5 separate regions of the Homo sapiens genome follow, and regions 2, 3, 4 and 5 are each linked to region 1. Evidence: promoter capture Hi-C in human tissues and cell types (Jung and others, 2019). All regions are on one chromosome and are shown on one strand. Each heading gives the region's core, a stretch centred on a gene start or on the middle of the fragment in contact. The rest is flanking DNA. Distances are from core to core; before and after follow the strand shown. Region 1 holds the start of PIGZ (phosphatidylinositol glycan anchor biosynthesis class Z (Gwada blood group)). Region 2 overlaps LOC105374308 (a long non-coding RNA gene). Region 3 has its middle 23 kb from the start of DLG1. Region 4 overlaps DLG1-AS1 (DLG1 antisense RNA 1). Region 5 overlaps DLG1 (discs large MAGUK scaffold protein 1).

Region 1 (2,614 bases), core at 67-2,566:
ACCACCAAAGGCTGCTTCTCCCGCCCTCAGGACTAAGATCTTGTTCCAGTCCTCCAGTCCTCGGGGTCTACTCCAGGGGTACAAGGTGAGAGTGGCTCTCCAGAGTCCATTTGCCTTTTGGTGCCGCACTGCATCCTCACTTTGACCCTGAGCGCTGCAGTAAGCCCTGCAGGGTGCTCCACCTTGAAGCACGGGAAGATCTGATGCTGGCCGCCTTCTTCCTTCGGTTGCCTGAAAGGGCCCGTGTTTATCCTTCGCTTCACAGAGAACGCAACACACAACATTAAACACACATAGAGAGTGAAAGAGAACAAGGCATCTTCATCAAGGAGGGCGCACCATTTAACCACCCGCGACCTTGCAGTGCGCCTCTGCAAAGTGGGGACTCCGCTCTGTAGCAGGAGATGGGGGTGTTGACGATTTTGAAAGTAGTTCTCAGTTTTCCGAGGCAAAGGTGTCTGGGGCTGACGAATGACTTTTGAGAAGAAGGAATGATGAGAAATGTCCTCATTACAGAACTTTCCCGGCCACACTGTGAGTCCCACGCAAAGACCCCATGACCACCAACCGGAGCGCTGGGTGCTCCCTGGCAGGGTCACCTTTGCTTTTTGCGCGCCCCCATGCCACCCCTGGGGCAGGAGGCCATCCTCTTATCCTGGGAGTGCAGGCCTGGCCCGAAGTGCAGCCCCCGAGGCCGGGAGCCGAGATTCTTCTCGGCTTCGTGCTCAGAGCTTTGCAGCGTGGCATGGTTTCCTCCTCTTGCCCTGTTGCTGTTTCATACCAGGGGGAACTGAGACCCAGTCGGGTTATGGGCCTCCCTGAGAACACTGGCCTCTAGCAGAAGCAGATTCAACCCCAGGCCTCAACCTGCGCCCAGACCCGTGCCCTGGAGTGGAGTTTACCCACTGCCGCCCTTCCTGGGCAAATGTCACCGCTGCCTCCGTCCCCCTAGGTCCGGGGCGGGTCAGTGCTTCGAGCCAGCGGACCCCGGCCTAGGGACAGGTGCCTGCGAGAATGCGGGGGGCGGCCCCCAGCTCCCCTGCCCTCCTCCCTAGAGGCTGGGCCTGCTGGTCTCCCGGCTGCGCGCAAGGTGGGAACGCGGCCGACTTGGTCCGCTCGCCCTCCCCGCACCCGCTCCTCTGGAGCCGCTGGGGCTGCGCACCGACTCACCCGCGCGGCCTCCGGGCTGCGCCTTCAGCGCTGGCGGCGTCCTGCCCGGCGAGGGCCAGGGTCCCAGGAGGCCCCGGAGGCGGCGGGACCGCAGGGCGGAGGGGAGGCCGTGGGAGCGGCCGGGCGCGCCTCAGCAGCGCGGAGACTGGGGCCGCCGCCGCCGGCGCAGGGCGGGCCGGGAGGGAGGAGGAGCGCGCGGGCGGGGCCGCCGTGTACGTCCCCGCGCTCCCGCCCGGCCTGGCCCCGCGGTCCCGGAGCGAGCTGGGGCCGCGCTGGGGAGGGTCCTGGGGGCGCCGCCGTCCCTCGGGCCGGGCAACGCCGGGCGGGGACCGGTCTCGCCCCGCCGCGCTCGGGCTCCCTCCCCGGCGGCCCCTCCTCGGCGAACAGCCTTTCGGCGCGGGGGGCTGTTAAACCAGACACCCCAGGCCACACTCCTCTCGTTCGAAATGACCATTTCGGGGTTCTCCGTGGCGGGGAGCTCCGCCGCCGCCGTCCCCCTTCCACGCGCGGGAGGTCGGCGAGGGCAGGGCGGGGACCCGGAGTGCGGCCCCCGGTCCTGCTTCGTGGCCCGAAACGCCTCGCAATGGAGTCACTCATGACAGGGGACTCAGCGCACGGGGCGGCTGCTGAGCCCCGCAGCGATCGGCGGGCGTGAGGGGTTCCCCGGCGTGGTTGCCCGGGAGCCTGTCAGCCCCAGCAGCCCTGACAGGAAAGGGAAGTCGAGAGGAGGCTGAGCGAACGGCCGCCACCCCCGCGGGACGCTGACCCGGGCGGACCCCGAGGGGCCTCTCCCCGCGCCAGAGCGCGGCGTGCGCGGGGAAGCGCGACCCACCGGGGTCGGCGACGGCGCGCGGGGCGGGCGCGGCGGTTCCCTCTCCTCCGCCCGTGCCCGTGGGATCGGCGGGCTTGTCGGGCTGGGAGAGCCTCGTGGAACCCGGGCATCCGGGCAGCAGCGGCCTCCGAGCCACTGTGGAGGCGCCCGGGGTCGGCACGGCGAGGCCGACGGGGACCTGACACGGTCACGCGGCGCCGGGGAGCAGGTTCGAGTGGCCGGGCGTGGCCGTGCTGCCCCTCCGCGTTCCGCAGGCGGCGACGGGCGAGCGGCCCTAGCGGGCTGCAGGGAGGACGCCGCGTGGACGGAGAGCCGGCGCCCGGGGGCCAGATCCCCTCCCGGGACGGGGCGCCAGGTCCCCGCGAGCTGCGGCGCGACGCGCGGGCACCCGTGTCCCACCCGGTGGCCTCGCCGCTGCGGGCTGCGCTGAGAGCGGGGTGGCGCGACGCGGTCCCTCACCGCAGGGGGAAGACGGCACCACCGCGTCCCGGCCGCTGGAGCTTCCCGCCCGCGCCGCCGGCCCGACGCTGCCCCCTGGCGGGAGAGCGCTGCAGGGGCCCCGGCGAGGCCGCAGGACCCGACCTCCCCGCCGGCCTCGCACTCCCGCGCCGC
Region 2 (2,614 bases), core at 77-2,576, 470 kb after region 1:
CATTCAAACCATAGCAATAACCAACCCATAGTTCAAGTGCTTATCAGAAACCTAAGTTTCCAGCCGGGCACGGTGGCTCATGCCTGTAATCCCAGCACTTTGGGAGACCAAGGCTGGTGGATCATGAGGTCAGGAGTTCAAGACCAGCCTGGCCAACATGGTGAAACCCTGTCTCTACTCAAAATACAAAAATTAGCCAGGTGTGGTGGTGCATGCCTGCAATCCCAGCTACTCAGGAGGCTGAGGCAGGAGAATGACTTGAACCTGGGAGACAGAGATTGCGGTGAGCAGAGCTTAGATTGTGCCACTGCACTTCAGCCTGGATGACAGAGCGAGACTCCATCTCAAAAAAAAAAAAAAAAAAAAATCTAAGTTTCCGCGACCCAAATTTACATTCCTAGGTCAGAACGTGTCTGACTGGACCAGCTGGAGTTACGTGCCTGCCCACGATCTAATCAGCTGTGGCAGACGGTTAAGGGAGTGAGTGCTGAGGGGACTCAGCAGGGAGACAGGGAGTTGATTCTCTGAGAAGGGGCTGTGGGCTGGGCTGGGAAGAGGGCTTGCCCGCCACTACTCCCACCTCCATTTTCACATACGGCAGCTCTGCTATGTCAAACCTCAGCTTTAGCTCCCTGCTAAGCAGAAACTCTTCCTATTATTGACTGACCCAAACAGCATGAAGAAGGTGTCTTCCTTTAGCCAACGAGCACTTCTCTCTCCACATAACTCTCTCCACGTAACTAGTCTCCTCTCTCCACATAACTAGTCTCCTCTCTCCACATAACTCTCTCCACATAACTAGTCTCCTCTCTCCACATAACTAGTCTCCTCCCTCCACATAACTAGTCTTCTCTCTCCACATAACTAGTCTCCTCCCTCCACATAACTAGTCTCCTCTCTCCACATAACTCTCTCCACTTAACTAGTCTCCTCTCTCCACATAGTCTCCTGTCTCCGCTTGGCAATGAGGGCTCTAGTCCTCTGAGAAGCCAAAACACAAGTATCTCTTTATACTAGAAGATGACTTTTACAAATCTTCCCCTAGATTTTCCCCTCAGAAGTCAGCAAATTGTCCCTCTCACAGGGAAGACAAAAGGAAGAATCACTTCAGATCCCTCCCATTTGGTATTGTACTTTTTTTTTTTTTTTAATGGAGTCTCACTCTGTCGTGCAGGCTGGAATGCAGTGGTGCGATCTCAGCTCACTGCAACCTCTGCCTCCCAGGTTCAAGCAATTCTCCTGCCTCAGCCTCCCAAGTAGCTGGGATTACAGGCACGCGCCTCCATGCCCAGCTAGGTATTGTGCACTTAAGCTACTGATATTACACGTGGTGACTGTTAACTTGTTGAGTCTCCCACCAGTAATAGCAACTTCGAGAAACAACACTTAAAGTTATTGATCTCACCATACAGAAAAAGCAAATTAAGCAGAATGTTGAACAGAATGTGAATTGGCTAATCAAAAGGATAATGAGGTTTAAGGGAATACGGTGCCTTTCATTTCTATATATTATTCCAATCTCTATTCGATGCGGCCATTTGGGGTAAAATGCTATGAAACAGCATATTTCAAACCCTGTTCTTCAGAAATACTTGAATGTCACGGACAAATCGATAGCTCTTTAAATCACAGAGCTGCGCTCATTAGTGGTCCTCCCTTGGGGAGGAGATGGCTGCATCTGCCTACTCGGCGGGAATAGGCCAGCCTCCAAACTGGCATGAGCTGACCTTTCCTTGGGCTTGTTACTCTCTTATTGGTGATTCTTTCTGTAAAGTCTCAGAAACCTTAGTTTGCAATTGCCAATATGCTTGTTGTTTTAGGGTGTCACCATTAGACTGAGTGTCTGAGCAAGGCTATTAAGCATTGTGTATTCCTGAGAGGATCCTTTCAGAGAAAACAAGAGGTTGTTTTACGGGGAAATGACCCATGGCTCAGTATTAGCTCCATTAAATGACAGACAAGAAAGGAGGTATAATGTTCCCATCAAGTAGAATGAGAAGATTGCTCCCAACTTGTGGTCCCTGTTTCCTATATCCAATGCCCTCATTTCCTTTCCTCTGATTCCTCCTTTAGTGAATTGATTGCTTCCCCCATTTTTCTTCATGGAAATTGCTCTCTATGCAAGGTTATCAGACTTATTTGCAGTTTGAGCCAAAGAAGCAACATCTTTCACTCCATCCACTTCTACTGGAAGTAGACTGGACTATCTTAATCCAATATAATAGAAGCTTAAGAGAAAACAAGCGTGGCCTGTTATTAAATTATTGCCAAATACTTTACAAACTGTAAATGTCAGAAAAAACTACACACAAAAGCTCTAAGGCATGTGGAGACAAGTAATACAATTTACTTCAATAATAAGTATAGAGTTACTTATGCTCAACTCAGAAGCCCACAAGAAGTATATTTTTTGCCGAACTTCGCTGACCAACTCCTCCAAAGGGGCCACTCAACTTCTCTCTAGCCCATCACTCTATTTTAATTTTTTGCATAGCACTTACCACTCTGATATTTTTATAGTTCATGTTTATATTTGTTTTTTACTTATTTATTGTTTATATTTTCTACTAGAATGTAGTCCTTTTCTGTCTCTCTCTCTTACCACTGTATTCTC
Region 3 (2,614 bases), core at 32-2,531, 350 kb after region 1:
AGAACTCTGGAGAGTCAATCAGGTTTGTGTGTGTGCCACAATTTCTTGAGGTGGAGAAGCTGAGCTTTTTTCCTAAACACCAGAATGGAAGAGGTCATAGGACAGTAAGAATGATTAATAATGCCCTTAGACTCTGGTGCTTATATGACCCCTAGCCAAGTCACTTCAATATGTCTGAGCACCAGTTTTCTTATCTGTCAATTGGTGATAGTAATGCCTGTCCCAGTTGCCAGGGAAGGATGTTGTGTAAGTTATGGAAGACAATGAAGGTGAAAAGTTTTTGTGAACTTCAAAGTGCCACACAAATGAAAGGTGCTATTTGCTGGTGCTTCTGTTCTGGCACAATCATCTGGACCTTTCTCTGGCAGAAGCCAGAGCCCCTCCTTCTTACTTGCTCTCTCTTTCTCTCTTTTTGTCTCAGGTTCCAGGGAGTTGGGCTACTTCTGAGGACATCCACTAGGCATGTTTATAGCAGCTTTTTTGGCAAGGGCCCCAAACTGTAAACAACCCAAGTGTTCATCAACAGATAAATGGATCAACAAATCATGGTACATCAATATAATGGAATACCACTCAGCAGTAAGAATGAATTAGTTACTGATACACATGACAACATGGGTGAATACAAAAATAATTATGCTAGTGAAAGAAGCTAGATCCTGCCCCCACCAAAGAACAAACTCTCATTTATATCAAATTCTAGAAACTGCAAACTAACTGATAGTGACAGAAAGCAGATCAGTGTTGCCTTGGGATGGGTTGTGGGGGGCAGGCAAGGGCAGGAAGAATAGATTACAAAGGGCCACAAGAAAACTTTTGGGGAGTAAAGAATAATGTGTTTGTTATCTTTATTGTGGTAATGGTTTCAGGGCATATACTTTTGCCAAGACTTATAATGTACAGTTTCAATATGTGCAGTTTATTGCATGTCAATTTTATTTCTATAAAGCTGTTTTTAAAAACTATCTCCTGGCACTTTGGGAGGCCAAGGCAGGAGGAAGGATCTCTTGAGCCCAGGAGTTTGAGACCAGCCTGGGCAACACAGTAAGACCTGTCTCTACAAAAAATAAAAAATTAGCCGAGTGCAGTGGCACCTTCCTGTAGTCCCAGCTACTCAGGAGGCAGAGGTGGGAGGATCACTTGAACCTGGGAGGTCGAGGCTACAGTGAGCCATGATTGAGTCACTGAACTCCAGCTTGGGCAACAGAGTGAGACCCTGTCTCAAAAATTAAAAAAAGGCCAGGCAGGGTGGGTCATGCCTGTAATCCCAGCGCTTTGGGAGGCTGAGGTAGGCAGATCACCTGAGGTCAGGAGTTTGATACTAGCCTGGACAACAGGGCGAAATCCCATCTCTAATAAAAAATGCAAAACTTATCTGGGCATAGTGGTGTGCGCCTGTAATCCCAGCTACTCGGGAGGCTGAGGCTGGAGAATGACTTGAGCCCAGGAAGCAGAGGTTGCAGTAAGCCGAGATCATGCCACTGCACTCCAGCCTGAGTGACAGAGCGAGACTCCATCTCAAAAAACAAAACAAAACAAAAACAAAAAAACCTATCTAACAGGTTGTTTCTTATCAAAATAAATGTGCACTTATTATACTGAACAATTACACCCTTGGGCATTTATCTTAGAGAAATGAACACAAACTGTACATTGGCATTGATAGCAACTTTATCTGTATTAATATAAAACTGGAAACAAAATAAATGTCCTTCAGTGGGTAAATGGTTGAACAGACTCTGGTACATCCCTACAATGGCATACTACTCAGCAATGAAAAGGAATGAACTCCTCATACATGCAACTTGAAAGGATTATAAGGGTATATTGTGTGTAGTGATAAAAGGTGATCTCAAAAAGTTATATCCTATATGATTTCATTTACATAACACCCTCAAATGGCAAAACTGTAGAGATGGAGAGCAGGTTCGTGGTTGTTAGGAAACAGGGATGGGTTAGGAAGGTATCACCCTAAAGAAAAGGGAGTTGCTTTTTGGTGATGGAATAGTTTTGTATCTTGATTGTTGTGGTGGTTACACAATCTATATGCAGGGTTAAATTGCAAGTTGCATAGAACTACACACTCACATGCGTACACACAAATGGGTTCATATAAAAATTGGTGAAAACTGAACAAGGTCTGTTGCATACTTACTAGTGTTGTACCAATGTCAGTGTCAGTTTAGATATTGTACTTCAGTCATACAAGATGTCACCCTTGGGGAAGTTGGGTTCAAGAGACTATACTCTATTTTTTTCTTTTTTTGAGACAGAGTCTCGCTCTGTTGCCCAGGCTAAGGTGCAGTGGCACAATCTCGGCTCACTGCAACCGCCATCTCCCAGGTTCAAGCGGTTCTCCTGCCTCAGCCTCCCGAGTAGCTGGGATTGCAGGCATATGCCACCATGGCCGGCTAATTTTTGTATTTGTATTAGAGAGAGGGTTTCACCATATTGACCAGGCTGGTCTCGAACTCCTGACCTCAAGTAATCCACCCGCCTCGGCCTCCCAAAGTCCTGGGATTACAGGCATGAGCCACCACACGTGTAGAGTATAGACTCTATTTTTGAAAGTTTCTGTGAGCCTATAATTATTTTAAATAATTTTTTAAGTTAA
Region 4 (2,614 bases), core at 35-2,534, 340 kb after region 1:
GGAAGTTTTTCCTTAACATGAGTTGTCAGAAACTGTCCAAAATTCCAAAGAGCTGCCTCAAGGTAGTGGAAATTTTTTTTTTTTTTTAATCAGGAAGGTGCTGAATGAAGCCAGCAAGGATTCTGTGTCAGAGGGTGGTAGATACCCAGGACATAAGGTTGAACCACGTGACCTCTGAGACCACAGTTCTAAGCTGTTGAAACCTCAGTCCCTGCTGAATACTGAAATGGTATTAGCACCCTTTAGTCTACATCAAGAATTCGTTCTACCCAGTTTTGGTGGTACCAAGACTGATCTCTTTCTCATAGATAATTCTTAACAGAATAAAAGCTACAGGTTGAAACCAATTCCCTTTAAAATGTGGACAGTTGACCATCTCCATGATAGGTAGTTAGGCACTGAATTAATGCTTTTTAATGGAAGAGCCACCCTAAGATTCCTGGAGTGTGGTATAATGGAGTACTAAATCAGCATAGGACTAATAACTGCCTCCCGTGTAAACTGGTCTATCCGGAGAGTGGTATAGCCTCTCATACAGTGTTCAAAGGCAGATTTAACTCACTGCAGGTCCACAGCAACCGATAAGATAAACTCGTTGGTTATGGTCTCCCACTTTGCAAAGGAGAGCACAGAGGAAGAGGAAACTGAGATAACTTGGTTTAGGACCCCACAGCTGGCTGGAGCTGGGCTGAACATTAGTTCATTGTTTCTTCGATTAATCTATGCTGCTTTTTCTCTACTTGGCTCCTTTTCTAAATTAAACAAAACAAAACAAAAAACACTGGGCACAGAGTGGTGTATATGTGTGTGAGAGAGAGACAGAGATAGAGAAAGACTAAGCGAAAGAGAAAAGAGAGAGGCTGAGTGAGATTCAGATAAAATAAGGCACAAGTCATGGGCTAGTCTGTTGTACAGTGTACTTGTCATATATTTGAATGCCTTTAACAATGGAGACAGTTTTGATGGAAATAGGGCCTTGAAGAAATGCATATCCGCACCCTGGTGGTATGTTATAACTAAACGGGTTGGTTTTTTGTTTCGGAGTTTTTTGGGTTTCTTTTTAATGCAAAGGTATATATTTAAAATACCCTGTAGCTTCCTTCTCTCCTTCATTTCATTTCCTTAAGTATGAGAGAGGTTTTCTGGATGACGGGACATCCAAACTGGAAGTGCCCTCAGATCCCATCAACTCCCATCCCCATGTTTGAGAAGCACGTAAAGTAAGCTCCAGAAGAGCTCCCAGACAACGTCGGCACACAATTATCAGAGGACTTTTCCCTGATGGCAGAAAGCTACTGACATTTCCAGAACCATCCATCTTTCTTTTAGAGAGAAGGGGCTGGGGGTAAGGAGAAATTAGTAATCTTTTCTAGAGATACGTTTCTAAGTTTAACCAAATTTGCTTTTCTGCTTTTGAAGAACTTGTGGTATTGACAGAACCGTAGGATCCCATATGGAAATCCTCAGGATTATACTAAAATCTCCTTACATGAAACAACCTCTTCACCCCACCCCCTGCCAAGAGAATGACCATTGTCTGTTCACAGAAGGCTTTGGCCAGGGCCCTTCAGTCAGATTATCCTTATGTAGGTAGAGAAGATAAACTTGGAAACTTAATTGGAATTTGAAGAAATGCTATTAGAATTTTAGGAAGTCATTTGTATTCCATTTCTGAGATATGACCTGAATAGAATTCTGGTAAGTGGAGAAGCCAGAAGATTCTTCATAATTATATGTGGACTGTGTCCAGTGACCAATCTCATTTAGGATGGAAAACTGCCACAACCTTCCAAAACAAAGACCTGTGTGCCAGTCTTTCATTTTTGGGAAGTGACACTCACTAGGGCTGTCATTTTCCTATTCCTCATGTTGTATAACCCTAAATTCCTTTATTATTTTCTTCTATTTTACACTCACAAGAACGGTAACGATAATGAATCATTTAAATCTTGCTTTCTATTTAAATTTTCTTTAGATTAAATTAATTTCTTCCCAAGACAATTTTATCAACTGAGATTAAATATTTGTGATTAAAGCATCTTCTGCCTTTTATAAATAAATTGGGCGGCAGTTGAAGAAACTTTTCCAAATATGCTTTTTAAAAATCCTGCAAAATTTTCCCAAGTTGGATATCATTTCAACTTGCAAATTACCACATGAATAAACAAAGCCAAGCTCGAAGGGAGTAGGAGACAATGAGTCAAAAATTTAAAAGGGATGGGCCTTTACCAATTACTAATGAAGATGAACAAAGCAATTTAAGAATAAGAGAGAAGTAAATATTTAATAAGAAATGCTACCATAATAATTTGGAGAAGCTTGGGTTCAAAAGAGCAGAATAAAGCTGTATCTCTATTCTTTTTTTCTCTTGGAAAAAGACTCCAAAAATATTAGAACAAAGAGAAACTTGTTCCTCCATCCTTAATAAAAAGAAGAGTGGCTAGGCGCGGTGGCTCACACCTGTAATCCCAACACTTTGGGAGCCCAAGGCAGGTGGATTGCTTGAGGTCAGGAGTTTGAGACCAGCCTTACCAACATGGTGAAACCCATCTCTATTAAAACTACAAAAATTAGCCAGGCATGGTGGTGCCCGTCTGTAATCCCAGCTACTCAG
Region 5 (2,614 bases), core at 87-2,586, 260 kb after region 1:
TCTACCTGCTAGAATGACAATTTAAGGCTATCAGGCAAGCTTTAAAACAGTTTTCAATTACTAATCTGTTTAAATTGGATTTTTCTCAGTACTGTATAACAAAATAGAGGGAAAAAAAGATGCTGAGATTAATGTTATCAAAATGTTTGCACTACTCAAAACTGCCTGTTTAGATTTATATAATAAACAAATGTAAATATGAATTTATTAAGTAAATATATGGTAATAAATACTACCTATATTACATATTACAGTTCCATGTTTAAAATTTCACTGTCAACTGAAATCTTATAAAAGGGTTAAAATACAAGAGCAACACCCAACCAAACTCCTTCACCTGTCACATTAACTGGAGATCAAACAATATAGTAAAAACATCCAACTATTTAGTCATGAAATTTTTTCATTATATATTAACTCATTATCAAACAAATGCTGAGTTATTGTTACTATCATAAAACAAGGGTAAGCTAACAAATTTTTTAAGTCCAAAAGAAGCTAAACTTGTAGACCAGCAGTGTTTAAATAAGCAGTGTTGTGCTTTTCTTTTTTAATTCCTAGATGATTTTGACATGTCACTGTCCCCAATCCCACTGATTTTCAAAACATCATGGTAAATCTATTGATAAATATTTGAGTTTCATACCAAAGATAGTAATAGCATCTTTATGTAAACAATTGTAATTCCTACAGAGCAGAGGACTTAGGTAAGATCACAAAGTGATGTTACATCTCAAGACCAGAAGTATACATCTTAAAGAATATTTGAATTTAATTTTCACACTTGCCAAAAAACAAGAATAAAATGATAGTAGTATCTGCTAAGAAATGACATTGCTTTCCATGATTCTTCCAACTGCTTTACATATAGTATGTTATTTAATCATCTTAATGCTAAGTAAGTTATAGCATATAACTAGTTGCTATAACACCTAAGTTTCCATGGTGACAGCTTCAACATGAAGAATTAATGAACATTCACTGATAATTTCAACATTAGAAACTATCTCCAACAGAAGCGCCTAACAGTTCTTAACAGTGAAGAAATGCAGCTAGATCACACTGCTGTAAGAGAACCATATGGGATTTAAATGATTAATGGAGTTAGAGAAACACTATTTTTCTTAAATTACGTGAAGAATTAATGCTGTGGTTTGCTTATTTGCTGTCTTTTTGAAACGGCAGGAATTAAGCAGTGACATTAGATACCTATGAATTTGCCATCAATTTGTCTGGCAAAGAATAGCCCACAATAATGTGGACATTTCTGTTATAAGTAGGCTTACAAAGTTGATTTAGCAAAAATACCATACAACTGATTACATTTTGTTGTAAGAATACTAACATACAGCCAGGTGTGGTCTTACACCTATAATCCCAACACTTTGGGAGGCCGAGCGGGCGGGTCGCTTAAGCTCAGGAATTCAAGACCAGCTTGGGCAACAGAGCGAAACCCTGTCTCTACAAAAAATACAAAAATTAGCCAGGCATGGTGGCAGGCGCCTGTAGTCCCAGCTACTCGGGGGGCTGAGGTGGGAGTTGGCTTGAGTCTGGGAGGTGAAGGTTGCAGTGAGTCAAGATTGCACCACTGTATTCCAGCCTGGGGAAGAGAACCAGACCCTGTTAAAAAAAAAAAAACAACAAAAAACAAAACAACAAAAACCAAAAAACAAAAACCACTAAAATGCTACTCTGCCAAATAAAATGTTGAATGAAAATTAAAATTAATGTCAAATCAAATGCAGTAACATTCACTCTTGATCAAACTGCACTACCTTGACTGATTTCAATTAACCACAGAATTTCAGCTGCTTTCACAGTTGAAGACAGCCAATTAGAAGAAATGAACAAATTAAACTGTGACTACATACAATTTCAATAATGGGGCAAACCTGTAAGATACAAATCATACCATGAAACCGCAATGTACATGGTCACAATGGAGAGCATAAGAATCAGAGGAACACCAACAAATTCATGCAAATAATTTGCTTTGTGTATTACTATTTATAAATCTGTTCTAAAAGGAAACCTGGTATAATCTCAATCACCTAAATTTGAGCACAAAAAACAGCTATTTGGATTGCCACTCTACTCTGAGTGGCACTGTTCTGTCATAGTAATGGGTGATAAAAATGTGAAAGAAGACCAGGCATGGTGGCTCACTCCTGTAATCCCAGCACTTTGGGAGGCTGAGGGGGGAAGACAACTGAGCACAGGAGTTCTGGCTGCAGTGAGCTATGATCACGCCACTGTACTCCAGCATGGATGACAGAGACCTTGTCTCTTAAAAAAAAAAAAAAAAAAAGGTGCAAGAAGAGCCATGCTAATGATACTGCTCATGGTAACAAAAAGAAAACTATTATTTTAGAAAAAGCTGGAACTGGGCTCAGTATTAGGTTTATAGCTCTATGCTTAAATATTTAAAACCATTTAAAAAATAAATTCATGGAGGAAACAAAACTTTGTTATCATGGGTCTGAAACTCTGACCTCTAACCTACTAGATCCAAATCTTGAACATTCATCAGAAGCAAATGAACTTGTTAGAAATGCATCCTGCAGGCACTTCATGAATATTTGTTCAACAAATGGTATTAAATTATCTGCCGTGG

Evidence for each region. The method cuts DNA at HindIII sites, captures the fragments that hold promoters and counts their contacts. A contact is called where the count stands out against the background at its distance.
Region 2: a contact is called between a fragment that was not itself captured here and the fragment with the promoter of PIGZ in region 1, in 3 of the 25 tissues and cell types used here (IMR-90 fibroblasts, dorsolateral prefrontal cortex and mesendoderm cells).
Region 3: a fragment that was not itself captured here is called in contact with the fragment with the promoter of PIGZ in region 1 in 1 of the 25 tissues and cell types used here (aorta).
Region 4: a fragment that was not itself captured here is called in contact with the fragment with the promoter of PIGZ in region 1 in 1 of the 25 tissues and cell types used here (dorsolateral prefrontal cortex).
Region 5: a fragment that was not itself captured here is called in contact with the fragment with the promoter of PIGZ in region 1 in 2 of the 25 tissues and cell types used here (dorsolateral prefrontal cortex and mesendoderm cells).

What each region holds. Positions count from the first base shown.
Region 1 is chr3:196,967,517-196,970,130 of GRCh38, forward strand. It overlaps PIGZ (phosphatidylinositol glycan anchor biosynthesis class Z (Gwada blood group)), which reads right to left and starts at 1,317. Exons shown (of 3, transcript NM_025163.4): 1 at 1,171-1,317. LOC124906255 (collagen alpha-1(I) chain-like) reads left to right here and starts at 1,617. Exons shown (of 3, transcript XM_047449439.1): 1 at 1,617-1,733; 2 at 1,880-2,614. The coding sequence starts at 1,617. RefSeq lists enhancers at 894-1,429, 1,430-1,965, 1,966-2,501 and silencers at 1,037-1,486, 1,547-1,756, 1,767-1,826, 1,937-1,996, 2,107-2,426 and 1 more. The HindIII fragment of the contact is 30,202 bases long and covers 1-2,614 here.
Region 2 is chr3:197,433,341-197,435,954 of GRCh38, forward strand. All of the region lies in intron 3 of LOC105374308 (a long non-coding RNA gene), which reads right to left. Among named protein-coding and RNA genes, the nearest start is that of LINC02012, 75 kb to the right of the region's middle. The HindIII fragment of the contact is 5,890 bases long and covers 1-2,614 here.
Region 3 is chr3:197,320,597-197,323,210 of GRCh38, forward strand. No RefSeq gene overlaps it. Among named protein-coding and RNA genes, the nearest start is that of DLG1, 23 kb to the left of the region's middle. The HindIII fragment of the contact is 6,318 bases long and covers 1-2,614 here.
Region 4 is chr3:197,302,976-197,305,589 of GRCh38, forward strand. It overlaps DLG1-AS1 (DLG1 antisense RNA 1), which reads left to right. Exons shown (of 3, transcript NR_038289.1): 3 at 1-776. Among named protein-coding and RNA genes, the nearest start is that of DLG1, 5.7 kb to the left of the region's middle. The HindIII fragment of the contact is 5,403 bases long and covers 1-2,614 here.
Region 5 is chr3:197,230,073-197,232,686 of GRCh38, forward strand. The region is part of intron 4 of DLG1 (discs large MAGUK scaffold protein 1); the gene reads right to left. Among named protein-coding and RNA genes, the nearest start is that of MIR4797, 63 kb to the right of the region's middle. The HindIII fragment of the contact is 3,796 bases long and covers 1-2,614 here.